5 separate regions of the Homo sapiens genome follow, and all the other regions are linked to region 5. The links are contacts of gene promoters, found by promoter capture Hi-C in blood cells and fetal thymus (Javierre and others, 2016). All regions are on one chromosome and are shown on one strand. The core of a region is centred on a gene start or on the middle of the fragment in contact, and the rest is flanking DNA. Distances in the headings are between cores, read along the strand shown.

Evidence for each region. The method cuts DNA at HindIII sites, captures the fragments that hold promoters and counts their contacts. A CHiCAGO score of 5 or more calls a contact.
Region 1: a fragment that was not itself captured here is called in contact with the fragment with the promoter of NECTIN3 in region 5 in 1 of 17 cell types (fetal thymus); the score reaches 5.9 in fetal thymus.
Region 2: a contact is called between a fragment that was not itself captured here and the fragment with the promoter of NECTIN3 in region 5, in 2 of 17 cell types (activated CD4 T cells and non-activated CD4 T cells). The highest score is 6.4, in activated CD4 T cells.
Region 3: a contact is called between a fragment that was not itself captured here and the fragment with the promoter of NECTIN3 in region 5, in 1 of 17 cell types (endothelial precursors). The highest score is 5.2, in endothelial precursors.
Region 4: a contact is called between a fragment that was not itself captured here and the fragment with the promoter of NECTIN3 in region 5, in 1 of 17 cell types (endothelial precursors). The highest score is 5.2, in endothelial precursors.

Annotation. Positions count from the first base shown.
Region 1 is chr3:111,666,233-111,668,932 of GRCh38, reverse strand. No RefSeq gene overlaps it. Among named protein-coding and RNA genes, the nearest start is that of PLCXD2, 7.1 kb to the left of the region's middle. RefSeq lists an enhancer at 949-998. The HindIII fragment of the contact is 257 bases long and covers 1,315-1,571 here.
Region 2 is chr3:111,615,270-111,617,969 of GRCh38, reverse strand. The region is part of intron 8 of CD96 (CD96 molecule); the gene reads right to left. Among named protein-coding and RNA genes, the nearest start is that of ZBED2, 21 kb to the right of the region's middle. RefSeq lists enhancers at 466-966, 967-1,467. The HindIII fragment of the contact is 2,568 bases long and covers 30-2,597 here.
Region 3 is chr3:110,409,035-110,411,734 of GRCh38, reverse strand. No RefSeq gene overlaps it. Among named protein-coding and RNA genes, the nearest start is that of NECTIN3-AS1, 660 kb to the left of the region's middle. The HindIII fragment of the contact is 1,171 bases long and covers 675-1,845 here.
Region 4 is chr3:110,309,250-110,311,949 of GRCh38, reverse strand. No RefSeq gene overlaps it. Among named protein-coding and RNA genes, the nearest start is that of MIR4445, 710 kb to the right of the region's middle. The HindIII fragment of the contact is 1,513 bases long and covers 665-2,177 here.
Region 5 is chr3:111,070,379-111,073,078 of GRCh38, reverse strand. It overlaps NECTIN3 (nectin cell adhesion molecule 3), which reads right to left and starts at 1,263. Exons shown (of 6, transcript NM_015480.3): 1 at 902-1,263. The coding sequence starts at 1,061. LOC151760 (putative uncharacterized protein LOC151760) reads left to right here and starts at 1,313. Exons shown (of 4, transcript XR_007096272.1): 1 at 1,313-1,587. RefSeq lists a silencer at 1,436-1,535. The HindIII fragment of the contact is 3,046 bases long and covers 1-2,700 here.

The DNA.
Region 1 (2,700 bases), core at 194-2,693, 600 kb before region 5:
CCTCCTGTCTTTAAAATGTTCTCCTCAGGGGATTTTTATGTCTCAAATGTTTGAGATGAAGGCTTTGAAATGTCAACAAATTTCTCTTTTTTAAAAAAGTTAAAATAGGTAGAATGGCAGAGTAAACAATTCTTATCCATGCTGCATATAACTTTATGCAATTAGGAAGACTATTTTGGCAGAGATAGTTGATCTCAACTAGCAGGAAAATCAATTGATCTGCCACCCTTACCTTTTTTTTCTCCAGGCTACCACCCCACCCCAAGGTTCCTAGAATTATGAGAATTATGTCTATTATTAGGAGACATTGTTGTATTAATGTGTATATTAGTAATCACTTGAGCTTCAGTCACAACAGAATGACCTCTGTGCATTTGTTATCATTTAACCAATCTAATCTTGGGAATGCATTCTTTTAACAACATGACTCTGCAATTTGGTGTGCCACTATCAATTGGAAATAGCATGATGCCACCTCATCCATGGAGTAAAAATTAGTAATATTATCATTACCTAATACTATCATTCTCTTCCAACTTTTTAAATATTAAAATTACAAGTTTGTACAAACAACCTTAACCAACAAAAATATTTTTTAATAAAGTAAATAAATTTCAATGTAAATAAAAGTAATGAATTTTTAGTGTGTCAACAACTCTCTCTGATCAACTCTCTCTGAATGTTAGGTTGTAGTCAAAAGCCCTTACAAATGCTTCTTGGCCTTTTGATGATTTTGTTTCAAAGGATTCTGATTTGCTTAAGTGTCTGTAGTTAACTCCCCAACTCAGCCACGTGTTCGGCTCTGCCCTTCCTAAACTGCAGAAACTGGTCATGGAGGAAGTTGTAGTTTATCTTAGCAACATCTGCACCCACAGCTTCCTCTTCCTTTGAGTAGCAGAAGTAAAAGAGAAAGTAAAATTTATGCCACACATCTTTCTGTTTCAGCCAAGTATAAAGGAGAATATTCTAGAAGTCAGAGTTAAGCAATATAATGAAGTAGAGGAGGAAGTGAGTTCCTATAACTGGAAGCATCCAAGCCAAGCTTGGCACCAATAAGACAGTAACATGATAGAATTGAAGCACCTGATGCTTGATTGAACTACATGAACTTCACGGTCTTTCCAACCGTACTCTGTTTTTTTCCCTCTGCCTGCTGTAGATACCTTTTGTCTTTGCACAGTTAAGCCTTTCTTTCCTTTTTATTGCCTTTCCTCACTCAAATCTTTGACTTCATTTGCTGTAGTCAGGACTAACAGAACTTCTATATAAATATGGACCTAATATTCTAAAATCATGCGGCTACCAGCAAAAGCTTGAGATTGTGTTTTGGGGAGTACCTTTATACTGGTAACACGTTCTAGCCTCTGGGGACACCTCAACATTTTCTCTACCCTCTCCCCGCATTCAGCACCCAGGATGAGATGCGCTTAGCTCAGGCAGTCAGGCTCAGAAAACACATAATGAAGCTCTCAGAGTGGGAAGTATGAATGACCTGGATGGAAGTCACCTTTAGTGCCTCCATCACCTCCACAGTGGTAGGATTGATGTGTGTGCGGCCCGAGGGCAAAGCTTCTCAACTCTTGCGCCAGATGTGCCCTAATCATGGAGCTGAGTAAATGCACACTCCCCAGAGCCCTGTATGGCAGGCATGACAAGCACTGATCCTGGCATTTCTTTCAAGCTGCATAGTTTGTTTTTGTAAATTCATTCACATTTTGTTACACACACACACACACACACACACATGCACACACACACACAAAATTGATGTTCTGGATGTGCTATGTTTGCCCTGTGGCTTCGAGTCCCTTCTGGCACACGCCTTTATTCTTGGGTACTTGTGACCCCTAATGTGAAAGTCCTAGGTCTGGAAGAAAGGCACCAAGAAGTCAATTAGGCACAAGAAAGCTCTGTTCACTCATGGCCCAGCCAACTTTAGTAAAGTAGAAGACTATGAGTGGATTTGAAACCAAAGCTTGAAATCGTGTCTATTTGCCCAAACCTTAGGCAACCTGGAGCAAACGCTGGTGAAGAATCAAGATTATGAGCCATTAGACTGTCTTCTTAAAGAGAGTAGAGAACTGAAAGCTTCCCACCTAAGCTTAACTCCCTCCTCTTGAGTTGACCAGGAGAAAGTTTCACTTGTAGGGCTCATCCTGCCCTTCTGGTACCGAATGTACAATATTAAAGCCTGATAAATTTACACAGCGGAAGTAGAAGACAAGAGGCCTCTGACTCAGGTCTCAAACTCCTATGAATCTTTAGCCTGCTGAGGTATGTTCTTGCTCCAAGAGTTTTAGACTAAGTTTCCTCACCTGTCTAGACTGGTGTTCTGTGTCTACTTACTTGAGTCTTCACTGATTCCTTGGATCTGTTTTTTTTTTTTTTTTCCTCTGCACCTATGATGCCTGCCTGATTCTACCAATCTGGGCTAAACTTTGAAACTGACTCAGTGGCCTATTCAGCCTAAGGCATCTGCCAAGCTGCCCAGATTTAGGTCCTGACCTCTCCTGGCCTGACTGACATGCCACAATAAAAATCATTAGAAGAAGAGCATTGATTTAAAGTGGATATATTAGTCTGTGATGTGAAGTGAGTCAAAAGAAAAGCTCAACTCACCATACTTGAGTGACAATCACCACCTTTAGCAAATTCTCTGCTCCACAAGGCATTTTTCTTTCTCCTACTCACTCATTTGCC
Region 2 (2,700 bases), core at 64-2,563, 540 kb before region 5:
CAAGGGGAACACTGTGGCACCAGAAAGCTTGGAGATGCCAGGAACTGTAGAGCTCCAAAGAGGGTTTTACAGCCCTGGCCTGGGAGGCCTTAGGTCTGGGCTCCCTGAAGGGCCACAGCTCTTCTCTCCTTCTCATTGCTTGCAATGTGGTGAGCAGGTGGGAGGTGTGTTTCAGCTGGGTTTGTGTTACAACTCTTTCAGTCCCACCATTCAGTAGGTCCCAAGTTCTTGTCTCGCCCCCAAGAAGAACGAGGTATGCTGACAACTGGAGGGTGAGCAAGGTGGAGAGGAGCTTCACTGAGCCACAGAACAGCTCTCAGGAGACCTGAAGTGGGTAGTTCCTTTCCATATGCAGGCTGTCCCAATGAGTGTCCAGCTCTCAGTGGAGAGGAGACCTGTAGTGGGTAGCTCCTTTCTGCAGGCAAGTTGTCTGGATGAGGAGACCCATAGTGGGTAGCTCCCTCCCACAGCTGGTAGTCTTGACTTCTTTCTGAGTCTGGCTGAATCCCCGGTTTTTCATGGGCTCAGAAGGGAGAAAGTGCATGGTGATTGGTCCATAGATGGCCATAGGCAGGCCAGGAAAAAGCACTATCCAATTGGCCCAGTGGTCATCGATGAAGTTATTACTCATATCCATGGACTTCACTTGGAACTGGCAGCCTGGCTCCCAGGCTTCAGGCCATGCCTGGCCTGAAGGTGGGGTTTCACTGGGGACCTACACCTTTCCATCCAGGAACCTAGTCAGCCTCCCACTGTCATCATGCCTTCCATAGCCCAGGCTGTTTGCACCAAATGGCACCTGCAGGCCTGCACCCAGCTGCCCTCAGCCCATCTCCACCTGCTGCCTCCTTCCTGTGCTCCTTGGCGCCCAAAGTCTGGAGGGGGCCAAGGTGGGGGATTGGTGTGTCAGTGCTGCCCCAAGTGTGCACACACCTGGCCAGGTTGTGACAGTGCCTGGGCTGAGCCTCATCTTTGCTCTGAAATTGGAGCAGGTGCTGGGAGTGGGAAGAGTCCAGGGGGTGGAAGCAGGCCCTTCTGAGCCTGCAGAAGCGGGGGTGTTCCCAGGCCCTCAAGAGAGCAGGGGTGTCAGGGTCTGGAGCCACAGCTGGGTGGCTGCAGCTGCCCTGAAAGCCCAGGGCTCCTGCCTTGCCAAGTCAGTAGGGGGCAGGCTCCCTCCTGTTCTCAGCCTCTACGGGCTCAACAGTCCCAGCCAGGCCTCCCTCACTACAGCTGGCATCCCCACAGCAGCTAGTCCAGTCGGGCAGCTGCTGCCATCAGAATGACTTGCTCTAGGCTACAGAGCCAGTAGGTGGCAGAGACAACAACTGAACCCAAGGCTGTCTGACACTAAAGACTATATTTATTCCATTCTGGTAGCCTTATAAGTGTAGTTAGCCTTGCTGCAGCATGCATCATCATCATCAGGGCCTAGCCACGGAAGAGCTCACTCATGATGTCTAGCACGCAACCACCCAGAATAGCAGGCCTTTGATAGCTTCTCTTCCTGTCCCACCACCACCTTTCAGCTTCCTGTCCCACCACCACCTTTCAGCTTCCTGTCATAAGGCTACCCAGACATCAGCCCTAGCCAGATGGCTTTTCTTTAGGGAGATATCCTCTGCATTCCCTAAAGCCTTCCTTTGTTAATCTCTTCTTTTTTATACTTAAAAAAATTCTCCATTTAAAAAATATTTACTGAATTATCAATACTTATTGGTAACCATGTGTTATCATTGTTCTAGGTGATACAGCTGTATCAGTAGACAAATAAGATAAAAAACACTGCCCTCATCAGATTTACTTTTTTTATGTGTGGAGAGGAGCCAAACAGGTAACTTATAGACGGTGTTAAAATGTGTTATGGAGAAAATACAGCCAAAAAAGGGGAACAGGAAATGGGGTGGGAGGCAGCTGCAATTTAAAATATGATGGTCATGGAGTACCTCATCGAGAAGGTGACATTTGAACAAAAATTTCGAGAAGATGAGGGTGTGATCCATGTAGATATTTGGGGGAAGAATTTTTCAGGCATAGGAAGTGAGGTTAAAAGGCCCTGAGATGAGAGAAATCCTGGTATGTTGAAGAAACAGCTAGGAGGCTAGCTTGGCTGAGCAAAGCAAGAGAAAGGGAGAGGGCAGTCGTGGGGGATATATCAAGTAGGGTATAATGTGGCTTTTCATGCTAACTGTAGATTTCTGCTCATCTTTACTGCCCACTTCCCTCCTCCCCTCACTAGATGTTGGTCCTTGTGAGCCTGGTTTTGTTTACATCAGTATCTATCTCAAGTAGATACATAATTCTAAACCTAGATTATTTGCTTTCATTCTAAACCTAGATTATTTTTATTAAAACACACATGCACGCAGACACACACATACACACACACCCCTTAGACAAAGACAGACTGGTCAATCAGCCACTCTATTTCCTACCTTGGGTTCTTACTGTATTTCCAAATGGATTTAGAGGTTCTAATAATAGAATACAACATGTTGACACTTACTGTGAACCAAGTGCTATAGAAGGTATTTTGTTTGCTTAGTCTCTTCTGTTGCTTTTAATCACCCTTAGAAGAAGGAACCACCCACGTGAAAGCTTTCCCTTTTCTGCATTCTCCTGTCTCCCTTCATGTTCCTCAAGCATCCTCACCTTTGGCCAATGCTTCTAGAACTCAGTGTTTATCTTCCATCCATCACACTA
Region 3 (2,700 bases), core at 11-2,510, 660 kb after region 5:
AAAATAAGGTTAATTAAAGCTATTACCATTTATTTTATTTTAGTCATATCCTCTTTACTCAATACTTTTGAAACAATCTATAATGAAGGACAACAAAGTTAATAAAATTAGAATTATTAACAGTAGTAGAAAGCAAGCAAATGGAAGGTTGAATCATTCAGAATTCTTGGTTACAACTAAGAGAAATAGATCCTAGATGATGTAAGCTGAAAAGAGGTCAAAGAAACTGTGAAACTCAGGTGGTCCAATCCCCTCAGTTTTTAATTGACACAATTAAGAATGGTTTAAGCTACTCTTTGAGGTCTCATAGATTAATTGTATTAATGCCATGAGTCATGAGTTTTCCTTATATTCTCTTACACTTTTTAATGTGCTTTATTTGATCCCTTGAATACTTTCTTGTGCCTCTTGGGTGTGAACACTTTTATAAATTTGCATTTATTTTTTTCCTATTCTTCTGACATATAAGAATATATAATGAATAAGTGACAACTGATTAGAAAAGAGTGTTACATTTCACAGTAAAATGTATAAATAAGTGCAAATTAATTATCTGTTTTTTGAAGTAAAAAGATTTTAGAGGTCATTCTTCTAATCTTCAAAAGTTTTTGAGAAAGGGATGCAAACATTTTATTGGCATTTTCTAGGCATAATCTGTTGTATTTGCCAAAGCTTTGTCATTTGTGAGTAATACAGACAAAAGAAATTCCTAGCCAGGCGCAGTGGCTCACGCCTGTGATCCCAGCACTTTGGGAGGCTGAGGTGGGCGGATCACCTGAGGTTGGGAGTTCAAGACCAGCCTGACCAACATGGAGAAACCCTATCTCTACTAAAAATACAAAATTAGCCTGGCGTGGTGGCGCATGTCTGTAATCCCAGCTACTCAGGAGGCTGAGGCAGGAGAATCACTTGAACCCGGCAGGCAGAGTTTGCAGTGGGCCAAGATGGCGCCCTTGCACTCCAGCATGGGCAACAAGAACAAAACTCTGTCTCAAAAAAAGAACGAAAGGATTTCCTGCCAGTAAAACTTTGATATTACAGAAATGTATTTATATATCATATATTTAATGTTTATGGAGAAATACTTTTAGTGCTATAATAGAAACATACCCTTTTGACTTTTTATGAAAAAAAATTACGTTAAATGTTCTTATGTTTGTATGTGCAATGTAATTAATTCTCTTAGTTGTATATTTAAGTAACACCAAATATAACTTTTGAAGTTTGTTTACAAAACAGATATTGTCCAAATAAATAGTTGTACTTTTAGTACTCACTTAAGGGCCCTTTCTTGACTTTTAACCACAGTGTATTACAATTTCAGTAATTCAATATGAAGAATTAAGGTGTGGTACCCACGTGGATTACTTAACTGTTAGGCTAAATGGAGAATTTTTAAAACATAGTTAGAATCTACTACTTTTTTAAAGGCATATTAAGTCTTTCAGTAAATTAGGATCTAAGAAAAAATTACAAGGGAAATTAGAAAATGCTTTGTAATGAATGAAAAAAAAAACAAAAAACAAAATACAACACACCAAAACTTAAGAGACATGGAAAAACCAGTGCAAAGTAGAAATTTATAGCTATAAATGCTTACATTAAAAGACAAGAAAAATCTCAAATCAATAACTTAACTTTACAACCTACAGAACTAGAAAAAGAACAAAATAAGCCCAAAGTAAGAAGGAAGAGGAAAATAATAAAGACTAGAGAAGAGATATATAGAATAAAGAATAGCAAAACAATAAAGACAATTAATAAAAATCAAAATCTATTTTTTGGAGAAATTTAAAAAATTGACAAACCTTTAATTAGATGAACTAAGAACAAAAAAGAGAAGCTTCAAATTACTAAAGTCAAAAAAGTAAGGGCATTACCACCACTTCAATTGTATGCCAGAAAACTGCGTAAGCAAGAAGAAATGGATAAATTTTGAGAAACAAAATCCTACCAAGAGTAAATCACAAATAAATTGAAGATTTGAATAGACCTATAAGAAGTAGGGAGATTGAATTTAAAAAAAAATCTTCCAACAAAGAAAAGCCTAAGACGTGATGGCTTTGCTAGTGAATTCTACCAAACACTCAAATAACTAAAACAAATCTTTCTCAAACTTTTCTAAGAAGCTGAAGAAGAGATAACATTTTCTGTGTCATTCAATGAGGCCAGCGTTACCCTAATACCAAAGCCAGACAAAAACACTACAAAAAAAGAAAACTGCAAATCAATTCCTTTATAAATCTTAATGCAAACATTTTAACAAAATACTAGCAAACTGAATTAAGCAGCATATTATAAGGATTATGCACCATTATAAGGAAATGCACCCCATTTATTTTGGGGATGTAAAAGTAGTTTAACATGCAAAAGCCAATCAATGCCCACATACAACATTAAGAATGTGAAGGAAAAAACAAAACACATGATCTTATCAACTGAGGCAGAAAAAGCATTTGACAAAATTGCACATACTTCCATGATTAAAAGTCTGAACAAATTAGGAATAGAAGGAAACTACCACAATATAATAAAAGCCATATTTGGAAAAACCCACAACGAATATACTAAATGGTAAAAGACTGAAAGCTTTTCTTCTAAAATCAGCAACAAGGCAAAAATGCCTGCTTTCACCACCTTTATTCAATGTTGTGCTGGAAGTTCTAGTCAGATAAATTACGCAAGAAAGGGAAATAAAAA
Region 4 (2,700 bases), core at 172-2,671, 760 kb after region 5:
TTTCAAGAGATGTGTATTGAGTGTGTCCAGACTTTTGTTCTGTTAAAGAAAAATGTTTAACATTTTTTTTGAGAGTGGCAATAACCCATTTGGTAATAAGAGACAAGAAATGTGTGTGTAATTTATGCTGGTTAGTAGATTGCCTTTGTTTGTCTGGCTTGTGGCACATAAACAGATGTCAAGAGAGAGTCTCTGTGCATTAATCTGAGTATGGAAACTGCTGACATAGCAGCTAATATAGCTGTATTATCCATCTACATGCTTGTTCTTTCCTGGTTTATACAGTAGGGCTTTTTGTCTGAATATAAATCAATAGAAAGGGAACTTTAGAGCTATTTAAAATTCTAGCCACTTGCACTAAAACATGAACCCCTTTGGTTATGTAATACTTCCACACATTTACTCATTTAGCAAAACCACAACTGTCTTCCTTTCCATCATCCTGAATTTGTGGGTCCGAAAGAACGCACTTAAAAATACATTTCCAAAAAAGTCATACATTCTTTAAAAAAGGTAACTATTTTACAAACAGCAAATTATTAAGAAATTCTTTACTGGTAAAAAGATGATTTTAATAGAGTTTACCTATTAAAGCCTATAAGAAATAGCATGCTTCTTTTTCAAGCTACAGCCATGTCGAATTGTACAACTTTCCACTGAAGCTTACATGTGCTACAGAATGCAAAAATGCTACACTTTGTGAAGTACTTGAGGAATTTGTGCTTACTGGTTTCTCCAATTAGCAATTTTTTTTGGTGTACTCTTTTTTAAAAATTTTATTTTAAGTTCCGGGGTACATGTGCAGGTTTGTTACCTAGGTAAATGTGTGCCGTGGTGGTTTATAATAAAGTAATAGAAATGAAAATGTTTTGTTTTGTTTTGTTTTTATGAGACAGAGTCTTGCTCTGTCACCCAGGCTGGATTGCAGTCATGCAAACTCAGCTCACTGCAACTTCCACCTCCCGGGTTCAAGCGATTCTCTTGCCTCAGCCTCCCAAGTAGCTGGAATTACAGGCGCCCACTACCACACTCAGCTAATTTTTTGTATTTTTAGTAGAGACGGGGTTTCTCTATGTTGGCCAGGCTGGTCTCGAGCTCCTGACCTCAAGTGATCTCTCTGCTTCGGCTTCCCAAAGTGCTGGGATTACAGGCGTGAGCCACTGCACCTGGCCTGAAAACGTTCTTAAGATAAATGATGAAGTGTAAAATAAGATTCCTGTTGTTTAGGATTCTCCAGCTTGATAACTTTTTTTTGTACACACACCGTGGAAAAAAGTTGGCAGAAAATAAGTCAGGAAACAAAATATAAATTTACTTATACTAAGTTTGACCTATATGACCACAGCTTTTCCATTGCCATGTTGCAAGACTGATGAGTATATATTTATTCAAATAATCATTCTCTCTTTCCAAATAACCCCATTGTGCTGTTTCTGCTTTTTTGTTGTTGTTATTAGAATTACCTTGATATCATGCAGCGTGCTTTCTTAAATAACCTCACTGGTAAGAATGATTTATTTTCTGAGGGTGGCTTTGAGAAGCTGCTCAGTCACTTAAGGGTGGCTAGTGATAAGATGAAATGATCAATGTGATTAATATTAATTGGGACAAAATAATACAGTGATTCTTAAAGTGTGATTCCCCAGATTAACAGCCTCAGGATACCATGGGGCTCTCATTCAGACCCAGAGTGCTCTGTCTACCCTCAGAGTTTCTGATCATTTCGTTGAGGGTGGGACCTGAAAACGTACTTTTCTAAAAAGTTTCCAGGTGATACTGATGTGGTCTGGAGACCACATTTTGAGAACCACTGAAAGAATATGGGATCTTAAAATTATTATCCTGAATTCTTTTATTATTTTAAACTGCTTTTGAAGGCAATTTCAAAGAGTTCTTAAAAGTCAGTATTATTAGGAAAAGTTTAAAACCTCTTGAAGTTATTCTTTTTATAGGAAAATATTCTGTAAATTATTTTGCCTTGGTTTGTAAACAAAGCACCCCAGGGCTTTATCGCTAGCCCTGGAATGCCAGATTAACACAGCCTGGAAGGAACCAGGGTTATAGAATGGGAATACTTAGTGTCACGTCTGCCCAGCCACTTTTTCTCTGGTATCACAAGAATGGGGACAGATGATTTTGAGTTCAGCTTTCTAACCTCCAGAATGTTGCTAGAAGCTTAACGTGCATCTTTATTTTTCTATCCAAGAAAAAAAAATAAATCTGAATTAAATTTAAACATTCAACTAAGTTAAATTTGGGAGATCTGATTCTTAGGAATTGTTAAAAATCTGATCATGTGGCTTAACTATATGAAATTCTTCAAAGGACCTCCCCCTATTGGGGATTGTGTGTCTTCCCTGTGAGATACTGAGTTCCATGAGACCAGAAATCATTTCTGTCAGGAGAATTGTTGTGTATTTAGGGATTCAAATGGTACGTAGAACAGAATAGGCACCCTGTGAATTTATTTTGGATATTGGAGTCCAAGATCTTTGATACATAATGCTTTTCATGTTCTGTTCCTTTCTTAGTCTTCTCTCTATCTCTTATCACACTATACTTTGAATCATACAGAAATACTGATTTTGCTTGGCCTTTCTGAAAAGTGTCATGATCTTTGTCACCGACACAGAACCAAATGACACTATTTTTAATATTTGTTGACAAATGCTGTCATAGTCTTTGGAATACTAAGGTAGA
Region 5 (2,700 bases), core at 14-2,513:
CTTAAGTCCATTTCTCTTGCATGAGGCAGACTTTTTTTTTTTTTTTTTTTTTAGCACAGTCCTTAATAAGCAGGCTTCTAGTCTGGCATACCTGGGAAGAAAACTCAGAGACTAACTCCCAAATATGACAGGAAAACAGTAACATAACACGAGGGTCAAGAGATGGGAAACAGGCGCGTGACTGTTTTGGTTAGAACAGCCGGGGCACACAGTCCATGAAATCAGGTATTTAACACGTAAATCTTGTTCCTGCGGTTTGGTAAAATAAGCACGGGCAGTGTGAGAGACGTCCCACAAGCTGGAGGGCAGGGACGAGGGTCAATCTAGAGAGCTCCAGAAGCTGTCAGGGCAGAGCCGGGGGAGTGGGCACAAGACAGAAGAAAACTAGCTGTAGGGGATTCTGCGGCTGGGTGGGCTAAAATGGTGCCTTCTCCAGGGTGGAAGGCCATGAGAAGTGGACCCGGAGGCTTCATTCCATCGGGCTCCGGTCCCTAGGGTTTCTGGGCTCACAGCTCAAGTTTCACCGGGAAAAAAAGCGGCAAACGTGCATCCCGGCACCTTAACCTACGAGGGTTCCCAGAGAATGAGCGAGGAAGTAACGGTCCCCGGAGCAAACCCGGAGTTCGGCGCACGAAGCACCATCGCCAACCCTCGGCCATCCGCACGGCGACCCGCGCGGCCGCGGGGGAGGGCAGCGGGCCGCCGGCTCAGCATTCGCTGGCCTGGCCCTTCCAGGGCCTCGCCCCGGGCGCGGCGAAAAGTTTCCAGCCAAAGTCCTCGGCACTCGCTCGCACAACCAACCGCCTCGCTGCTCCAGAGAACGGCTGGCAGAGCCGGCCGCGGCGCCCGCACCCTCAGTGGCGGCTCCCTCAGCCCACGCCGGCCGCCGAGGTTCACCTACCACAGAGCCTGGAGAAGAGCAGCAGCGGGAAGAGCAGCAGCAGCAGCGGAGGTGGCGTCGGGGGCTGCAGCAGGAGCCCGGCTCCGAGGAGAGAAGCGGAGGAAAGTTGTGCTTTGCCGCCTCCAGGACACAGCGGGGACGGCCGCAGGGTCCGCGCCATCCCCCACCCTCCCCCCGGCCCGCTCGCCCGCCCGCCCCCCGGCTCCCCCGGCCCCGGCGCCTCAGGCTCTGGGCGGAGGCTGTGGAAGGTCCGGCGCGCGCGTCCCCAGCTCCCAGCTCTAGCGCCGTCGCTGCCGGCTGACACTTGGCCGAACGCTGGCGGCTGCCTCGACACCGCCGTCGCCGACGCCACTGCCGAGGCTGAAGCGGGAGCCGCCCGCCGCCGCCGCCACTCCCCTCCCCTCGGCACCCGCCCGCGTCGAACTCCTGGGAACTCGGAACGCACCACCCCGCCCCACGCAAGAGGGGGAAAAGAAACCGACTCTCAGAGCGGGCGCCCGACTCGCCCGCCCTCCCCGCGCAACTCCACCTCCCGTCTGATCCCCGGGCGCAAGCCCTGTCTCCTCCCACCCCGCCCTCCTACACATGCTCCTCCCCTTTCAAAAAAAAATATTCTTTTCATCCACTTTGATAACGGGGTTTCTCCCACAGCAGAGATTTAAAAGGGACAGGAAAATCTGGAATAGGTTAGTCGGCCCCGCCCCTCGTTCCTGCCTGGTTTCCCCCCTTCCCTGCCTTTCCAATGGTCTCGCCCACTCCACCCCTCGCGGGTCCACGGGGGCCCCGGCGCCGACTGAGGCGAGGGCTGCGGGACAATCACGCTCGGCCTTCTCCTCTCCCGGGCGGCGCTCTCCCTGTGGCGGGGACCTGGGACGAGGGGGTGGGGTGGGGAGGGGAAGGCAGGAGGGGGCTGCCCTTCCGTTGCCCATGCTAAAGGTTCCTGTGTAGGAAGCTGGACGCAGCCTGCTGGACTAGTAATCTTCCTCCTCGCTGGGGCGCGGGGCACTGAAGGGAGGGAGAGACTTTCTCCTCCTTCCTGTTCCCCGGGACAGCTGTGCTCTCCGAATCCTTCCCTTCTTCCCAGCCCACTTATTCCCCGCTCGCCAAGGCACGTTTGCACAGGCATTTTTCCTGCTCTTTTTTCTGGGAGGGCAGCTTGGTAGAATGGTCGGCGGAGCTGGGCGAGGAGAGGGGTCTTCAGAAGGTTTGCTTTCTTGCTCTTGCTTCTCACTGGCCGCTGGGCTGTCCACTTTCCGCGCCGGGCGACTGGCAACAGGAGGCCATGGATTTCCCCCAACGAGTGCGTTGGTGTTTTTCTTTGGTTTTGTTTCCTTTGCATGTTCGTATGTGTAGTTTTATTTTCTTGCCTGTTTTCGTTTGATGGCAGAGAGGCGACCTCGGGAAGTATTAAACATTTGCCCGTATAAGAAGAGCGTCTGTGGTCCACCATGACCCTCGCTCATCCCAGGTGGCTCTCCGCCCTGCCCTCTCCATCCTCCCGCCTCGCACAGTACCGGCAGCTTGACCTTGGAGCCACTGCCACATTGGTTCCGCGGGGGGAGTAGGAGGGTGGACAATTTGGACTGTCCAGCGTAGGGGGTGAATTGAAGGCAGAGGACACCAGTCCTCAGGCCTGACACTATTAATTTTATGTAGGTCCTGTCATCTCCACGAGATAGCCATAAATGTGTTCCAGTAACAGGAAAGCTGAACAAGGATCAGCCGCCCAGAAGTTAGCCTGTCGCAGCTAAACTAATGCATGCTTGCGGCCAAGACCACGCTGTCCTCGGCTTTCAGTC